2 separate regions of the Homo sapiens genome follow, and region 2 is linked to region 1. The links are contacts of gene promoters, found by promoter capture Hi-C in blood cells and fetal thymus (Javierre and others, 2016). All regions are on one chromosome and are shown on one strand. The core of a region is centred on a gene start or on the middle of the fragment in contact, and the rest is flanking DNA. Distances in the headings are between cores, read along the strand shown. Region 1 holds the start of ZUP1 (zinc finger containing ubiquitin peptidase 1). Region 2 overlaps NT5DC1 (5'-nucleotidase domain containing 1).

Region 1 (3,833 bases), core at 761-3,260:
ACAGATCCTTTTATTTCGGTCAGGCTGGACTGTTTTTCCCTACTTTTCAGGAATTTTCTAGATTCAGTTAAGTTCTCTGAATAGAAGCCTTCATGTTTTAAAGTACTATCTTTAGTCAGGTTTTGAGCTGAATTTTTTGGATGATTAGATGCACAACCTGAAAGAATACTTGAATTAACTTCCATTCCACACTGTAGGGTGTTGTCTTTCTTGTTATCTGAAGTTCCATATTGTACTGTATTTATCCTCTCAAAGTTTCTTTCAAGTGTATTCTGCTCAAAATGAGCTGTTTCGATATGAAAACACATTTCATCATAATTCACACCTGACAACTTGCAAAATGGACATATAATTTCACTTTCCATGTGAACAATTAGGTGAGCTTTCATGTCTGGTTCTGAGGTTACTGTTTCACCACAAATATTACAGGAAAGCATGGTATTGACAAGTAGCTAGAAAAGAACATAACATTAGGTTTCAAAGATTTGAAGAAAAAATGTGTTTCATAAAATGATTTGAGACAATTACTTGGTCTTTAACGCTGGATTATTTTGATGAAGAAGTTTTCAATGTACTTACTGTTCCTCAAATACAAAAACTTATTTATAAATATCAACCAAAATTTCATTTATTTTTTTTTAAAAAAAGGCAATAATAATGAATACAAGTAATTTTAAAAATAAAATATTTCAAAAAATGTCTCTGGCCCAAGGTGGAGAAAAAATAACGTTTAAAAAATTGTCCAGGTAAGATAAATCAGGTAAGAAAAAAATGAAGAGAAGAAACCTATTTATCAACTGATATATCTAAATACTGAATACTGAAGCTGATTATATTGAGGAGGTAAATAAACACATCTTACAAGTAGAGTTTAACACTGTAAACTTAGAGTCTTACATGTATCAAGTGCTATTTAAGTGCTATTATTGTAATTTAAGTACTATTATTATCGCTCTACACATAAAGAAATTCTGGCTCAGACAGGTCACCACAAGCAGAAAAAGGTGGAAGCCAAAATGCCAACCCCGTCGTGCTCCACAGCCTGTACTCTCAGCCCCAAGAATAAAAGCAGAAGTGGTATAGTAGAAAAAAGCACTTATTCCAGAGTCAAGAGAACTGGGTAATAATTTCAGATTCATCATTTTGGGTAAGGAATCTCATCTCTCTGAGGTTCAGTCAAAGACTACTGTAAAATCCAAAGGTAGTTATTTTTGGATTTTATGGACAAATAAAGTACTGACTACTGACATAAAAGTGTTAAAAAAATAATTTTAAAAAAAGCAATCACTTCGCCACCACCTTCCTACTACAGGTCATCGTTCAGCTAAAGACTATTTAAAATCAAACAGGAAAAGTAATGACACTATCACTTCATTTAAATAAATTTACCTTTAAAATACCTCCCTACATTGTCCTTATTTTTTTCATTTCTCTCCAGACAAATGGATACAGTCTCTGATTTTAGAAGGCAGTTCTCCCGAGCCCCCAGTGGGATTAATGTCACACCCGGAGTTTCTTCTCTTCCGGTGGCTGGGACACGGTCAGACACAGAATGATGAACTTGGACATGGACTCAGATTAAGCGGGTAAGAGACAAGAGAGTACCCAGGTGCCTCAGAGGAAGCGAGTGAGAGGCATGAAGGACCCAGTGCCAAGCTAGGTACGTGGTGGGTGAGGTCAGAAGACCGCAAGGCCGAGTCTCCCAAACGTTCCGCGCCAAAGGCACAAGCCAGGCACACGAAACTAGCAGGCACTAACTGGGTCAAAGCTTTGGGCCTGGGGAATAAGGGAGGGGACCATCAATTCTTACCGGCCCAGAGGCCAGCAGCTGCCACACTGAGCTCCGCTAGGCTTCCCCTTTGGGCCTCGCTGGCAGACGAGTGCGTGCGCGGCGTCCAGTACCTCTCCTGGCCTGATGACTGAGGCCAGGCCTTCCCAATACGCAGAGTTTCACAGTTAACCGAGGAAAGAATTAGGAACTTCCAACACCTTGGCCCTCAGTACCTCATTCAAAAGCACTTCCTTACTCCCACGGAAAAGAAGTAATCCCAGAATGCGCCGCTCCACGCCGGTCTCTATGCAGTGCATTCTGGGAGATGTAGTCTTTTTTTTTTTTTTTTTTTTTTGAGACGGAGTCTCGCTCTGCTGCCCAGGCTGGAGGGCAGTGCGCGATCTCGGCTCACTGCAAGCTCCGCCTCCCGGGTTCACGCCATTCTCCTGCCTCAGCCTCCCGAGTAGCTGGGACTACAGGCGCCCGCCACCATGCCTGGCTAATTTTTTGTATTTTTAGTAGAGACGGGGTTTCACCGTGTTAGCCAGGATGGTCTCGATCTCCTGAGAGATGTAGTCATTTTTGCATTCCTCCCATTTCCGAGTTTTTCCTTCTCCCATCGAGTTTCCTGCCACTCAATTGCTAGGAGAGAAAACCGGGCTCTGAGGTCATTCATACTTAATCTGAATGAGTTCACAGGGCAGGTCCTGGGGCAAATAGCAGTCTACACTAGGGCCTGCTGAGTAGCACTCTATTTTAGTATCAATAAAGGGTTTATAATGCTGCTAGGTATCAAGCTCCCAGCTATGCACCGAAGGTAAAGGATACCAGGTTCTTTCCTCAAGGTTACAAGATAACAAATATCTTGGTTTGTATGTATGTATGTATGTATATATATATATTTTTTGAGACGGAGTCTTGCTCTGTCGCCCAGGCTGGAGTGCAGTGGTGCCATCTCTGCTCACTGCAAGCTCCGCCTCCCGGGTTCACGCCATTCTCCTGCCTCAGCCTCCCAAGTAGCTGGGACTACAGGCGCCCGCCACCACGTCTGACTAATTTTTTGTATTTTTAGTAGAGATGGGGTTTCACCGTGTTATCCCGGATGGTCTCGATCTCCTGACCTCGTGATCCGCCCCCCTCGGCCTCCCAAAGTGCTGGGATTACAAGCGTGAGCCACCGTGCCCGGCCGTATGTATGTATTTTTAGAGAGGAGGACTCTTTCTGTCACCCAGGCCAGAGCACAGTGGCTAAAATAGCTCACCGCAGCCTCGAACTCCTGGCCTCAAATGATCCTCCCATCTCGGCCTCCCAAAGTGTGAGCCACCATGTTAGCCCAAAATCACAAATATCTTGTCATTCAGGCTTTATTTCATTCAACAAATATTTAAAGAGTGTCTATTAGAAAGGCGTTTTGCTTGCAACAGGAGCTGCAGCAGTAATCAAAATACACAAAATTCAGGATTTTTGAGGCTTACATGCTGGTGAGGTAGAGGAAATAAAAAGTAAATTAACTGATCATGATAAGTGCTATGAAGAAAATAAAACTGGATTGGCCAGGCTCAGTGGCTCACATATGTAATCCCAGCACTTTGGGAGGCCGAGGCGGGCAGATCATTTGAGGTCAGGAGTTCAAGACCAGCCTGGCCAACATGGTGAAAGCCCGTCTCTACTAGAAATACAAAAATTAGCTGGGCGTGGTGGCAGGTGCCTGTAATCCCAGCTACTCGGGAGGCTGAGGCAGGAGAATTGCTTGAACCCGGGAGGCGTAGGTTGCAGCGAGCTGAGATCGTGCCACTACACTCCAGCCTGAGTGACAGAGCAATAGATTTTTGAGACTGAGTCTCAAAAAAAAAAAAAAAAAAAGAAAGAAAGAAAGAAAAGAAAACTGGATTATAGAGATACGAATGTTTAGAAAAGGTCTTGATGAAGGGTTGAGTGTGCTGATGAACAAACCTTACACCAACAGGGGAAATAGCATTTCAGACAGATAAAATAACAAGAACGAAGGCCTAAGGCTGGAGCAAAAAGAACACTTTTTGACCAGAGCATAATGTGGTAAGGA
Region 2 (3,861 bases), core at 132-2,631, 450 kb before region 1:
TGACTGTAAGCTCTATATTTTGAAGTTGCTGACAAACAACAGCTCCTCCAATGTTATGCCTGTATGGCTGAGCTTTCAACCTGGTAAGATTTCATCTCTCCCTATGAAATTGTACCTCACTGAGTCACCTTGTCGACTTTACAGCCTGTCCAGATATTATTGTATGTGATTCTGTCATCAGATCCATCTGCTGACCCTCCCAGCTGTCAGCGTCCTCATTAAAGGATTTGTTATATTTTGAATAAAACCAGGCAGACCTTCAAAAACCTCTCTCCACATTTACGTTGTCTGTCCAGTAACCATGTCGGAAAGAGGAAACTAGGTTCTTTTAGAATGATTCATTCTGATATCATAGGAGAAAAAATAGGTTGTAAACTGATGGCAACAGGGGAGTTGACTAGGCCAAGTGCAGACAATATGGCGTGGTGGGATTGTGGGTAAACTATTACAATACATATGTAATACTGTCCAAGGACATTAACATCCAAAAATTTTAAAATACTGCCGACCCAAAATCATATTTATAGACTGTATTCAGCACAGAGTCAGGCAGTTTGATGGCTTTGGAGAGATAAAGGAGTCTGTTTGGCTTGTCTATACTCATTTAAACTGTTCGAATAATTTTTCTTTCAAAGAATTCCATAATATACACTTTTTCCAGGAATCCTCCTTTCAAAGGAGGAATGAAATCCATCATTCTGTATTCACAATACTTAACTAAATCTAGAGTACCATGCTTAATTGGTATAGTGTAAGAGTAAACACTTTAAAGATCATCAACCACAATGACATTTAAGATAATTGGCAACAGTTATTATTTGTTGATTACCTAACATGTACAAGGCTATATGTTAGGTAATAAAGATACTATAAAATTCAAAAGTCCCTGCCCTCTGAGAGCCTGTGATTTCCAATGAAGCAGGCAAAATACACAGAAAATAATAGTAAGAATTCTGGTTTTTATATTTTATATTTTATATTTTAGGTCAACAAGTCTTAATCCTGGTAGCACATTAGGACTACCTGGGAAGCTTTAAAAAAAAAAATACCAATGTTGTGGCCCTACCCCAAAACAATTAAATCAGAATTTTTGGAGTAGGGCCGGGATATGCAAATTAAATTACAGATCTGGAAATCAGATACTGTTAAAATGTAAATTTTGTATATTATGTTTTTCTCTCATATTCTGTACTTCATTTCCCAGCTTTTATTTGAGAGACTTTCCAAGTATTATGTTTAGCATATAGATTTTCACTTTACACAATCTAGATATTCTAGATTTATTTATTTAATTATAAAATATTAGATATAAACCATATATTTTGTTATATAAACAGCAAATCTGTTTTAATACATTTTAATTTTATTTTTTGCCACCTATAAATAAACAAAATAAATTTATCTCTTTTATCCTCCAACAAATATTTCAGTGTCTCTTAGCAAAGAAGTTTCTTCTTTTAAGAAAATTAATTATATCATCTCTACAGCAAGTACATTTAAACAGTTCATCGCTAGGCATTTTAGCTGTTCACTAGCGTGCTCTTATATAACTTGTAAAGGTTGTAAATATTTAAATCTCTTCTAAATTATATTCTGCAATGGAAACAACAGACCTTATTTGGAGGCTGACCATGGAAGTGTTAGCATCCTGGCATCTCTAGTCCCCTCGGACAGCAGCTTTGAAAATTCTGGCCAAAAATCATGCAAACAGTAGTGATACAGTTAACAAGAAAAAGCTTATTCAGTGATGATAGAAATAGTGATGTGGCACAATTGTCTGTTAAACTGAAAAAAACTGTTTTTAATATTCAGGTTGTACTATACTTTTTTACCACGAGAGGTCCCTATATCCTGTTTGGTGTATTCAGGCCATTTGATGTGCATATCAGACTGTTGCAACACTTTGGTATTATTTCTGTCACTCTACATTAACCAGTTTTTTTAACATAGGAGAGCTAAACTTTTATTCCTTAGAATCAGCTTATTAAAAGAATTTCCTTTAAATCTCATCTGGACCTAGAAAATATCAGCATCAAAGGATATAAGAGTGGTGGAAAAACCAGGAAAATAAGTTACATAAAGTGGCAGTGAAATAGAATTCCTTTGGAGGTTAAGTGAAAACACAGGCTTCTTTGTGAGTTAAGAACAAACAATACCACTCCTTTCCATCTTAGGTCTAAATTCCATTTTGTTCAATCAGTGTTAATTAGTATCATAATTAAACATGACTTTTTTCATAGGCTGCCTTAATCATACATGAATAATATTATTTTTATCACTTCAGTTTGGCTATATGGTACTAATCATACTCTTGCCTTGAATGTAAGGAAACATAAATGTTCCTGTGTCTGCTCCTGCACTAATTTAGGTATTCATATGTTGAATACTTGCTCCATGCCAAGCAGAAAGATATATTTCTTGCCTTTAGAAGTTTATAGTTTCTTTGGGGGATATAATTTAATAGACAATTATAATCCATTGTAGTATGTTTAACATAACTCTTCATTTGATTTAATACCTTGACTTATTTCAATAAAAAGATGTTTCTATTTGTATAATTATGTCTCCTATTCCTTTAATAATTGGAGGTTACAAGGGGGCAAAAATATTTTCTCCATGACAGTGATCTTTTGTAGTAAGAGCAACTCATAATCTACCATTGGGTATGTGTTTGTACAGGGCTTGTCTTTTTTAGTTTGTTCATTTCAGTCTGGCTTATGAACAAAACAAGGACATCTCTGTTATGACTTCAGAGAATAATTTTATCTGATTAAATTATTATATTGGTACTCTTTTGAATCAGACATTATTAATTGAGATACTAATGCAATTAACCTAGGTAAGAAATTTAAAATATTGTATTTAAATGCGTATGCCTTGTATTTTTATTCCTTTGGAAATGTTAACAGTAGCTTTTTAATGGTAATTTATATTTTGATCACTAGATGGCACTAAGCACATATAGCTAAGAAAAAATAATTTTTTCTCAAGTTTTCTGAAAGCAAGTCTATGTTTTCAGCATTACACACTATAAATTTTTTTCTTACGTAGCCCATAAAATTCTTCTTGCTACAAAAGCTTTGTTTTTCTAAGTGAAATAATCTCACATCTGACTCCCTTAGGTATAGTAAGTTACGAGAGAGACACAGCCTCTGAAATTAGCAGTCATCCACTCATCAAACTTCTCTATTCTTAGCCATTTAGATTTATTATTATCATCTGTTTCTTAAACTGACCTTTTCTTACTAGTACTTCCTCTTCCCTGGGAAACAGAGAATATATTTTAATTTTTTTAAAGGGCTATTATATAGCCTCTGGCATGTTAAAAATAGATCCTAGAGATTCACACACAGAAGTTCCTGTAGGGCAAAATATAAAAAGAGCAAAAACTTTGTTTTTGTTTTTGGTCTTCTAAATATTATTCTCATATTGCAAAATATTATTTCTTTTGTTAGTTTTGGTCTGGTTATGATATTCATGCAATATATTTTCTGAATCATGATGCTTTAAGTTGCAAATAATAAATAACCTTAATGTTTAAGCTATTACTAAATTGAGTTATTTTACACAACCAGAGGTTGTCCAGAAGTTGAATGGTACTTCCAGTGGTGGTTAGAGTTAGTCAGTGACTTAATCAGAAATCCAGTGGTGGCCAGGCACAGTGGCTCATGCCTGTAATCACAGCACTTTCAGAGGCCCGAGGTGGGAGGATCACTTGAGCCCAGGAGTTTAAGGCTGCAGTAAGTCATGATCGTGCCACACTGCACTCCAGTCTGGCCAACAGAGCGAGACCCTGTCTCAAAAACAGAAACAAAAGCAGAAACCCAGTGATGTCATCAGGGACCCAGGTTTGTTTCCTTT

The links. Contacts are between HindIII fragments. The CHiCAGO score rates a contact against its expected background, and 5 or more counts as called.
Region 2: a contact is called between a fragment that was not itself captured here and the fragment with the promoter of ZUP1 in region 1, in 1 of 17 cell types (naive B cells). The highest score is 5.1, in naive B cells.

The regions. Positions count from the first base shown.
Region 1 is chr6:116,666,756-116,670,588 of GRCh38, forward strand. ZUP1 (zinc finger containing ubiquitin peptidase 1) reads right to left here and starts at 2,011. Exons shown (of 10, transcript NM_145062.3): 1 at 1,811-2,011; 2 at 1-452. The coding sequence starts at 437. RefSeq lists a silencer at 935-1,084 and an enhancer at 1,846-2,035. The HindIII fragment of the contact is 3,066 bases long and covers 1,767-3,833 here.
Region 2 is chr6:116,215,358-116,219,218 of GRCh38, forward strand. The region is part of intron 6 of NT5DC1 (5'-nucleotidase domain containing 1); the gene reads left to right. It also overlaps a transcript of COL10A1 not described here. Among named protein-coding and RNA genes, the nearest start is that of TSPYL4, 37 kb to the right of the region's middle. The HindIII fragment of the contact is 705 bases long and covers 1,030-1,734 here.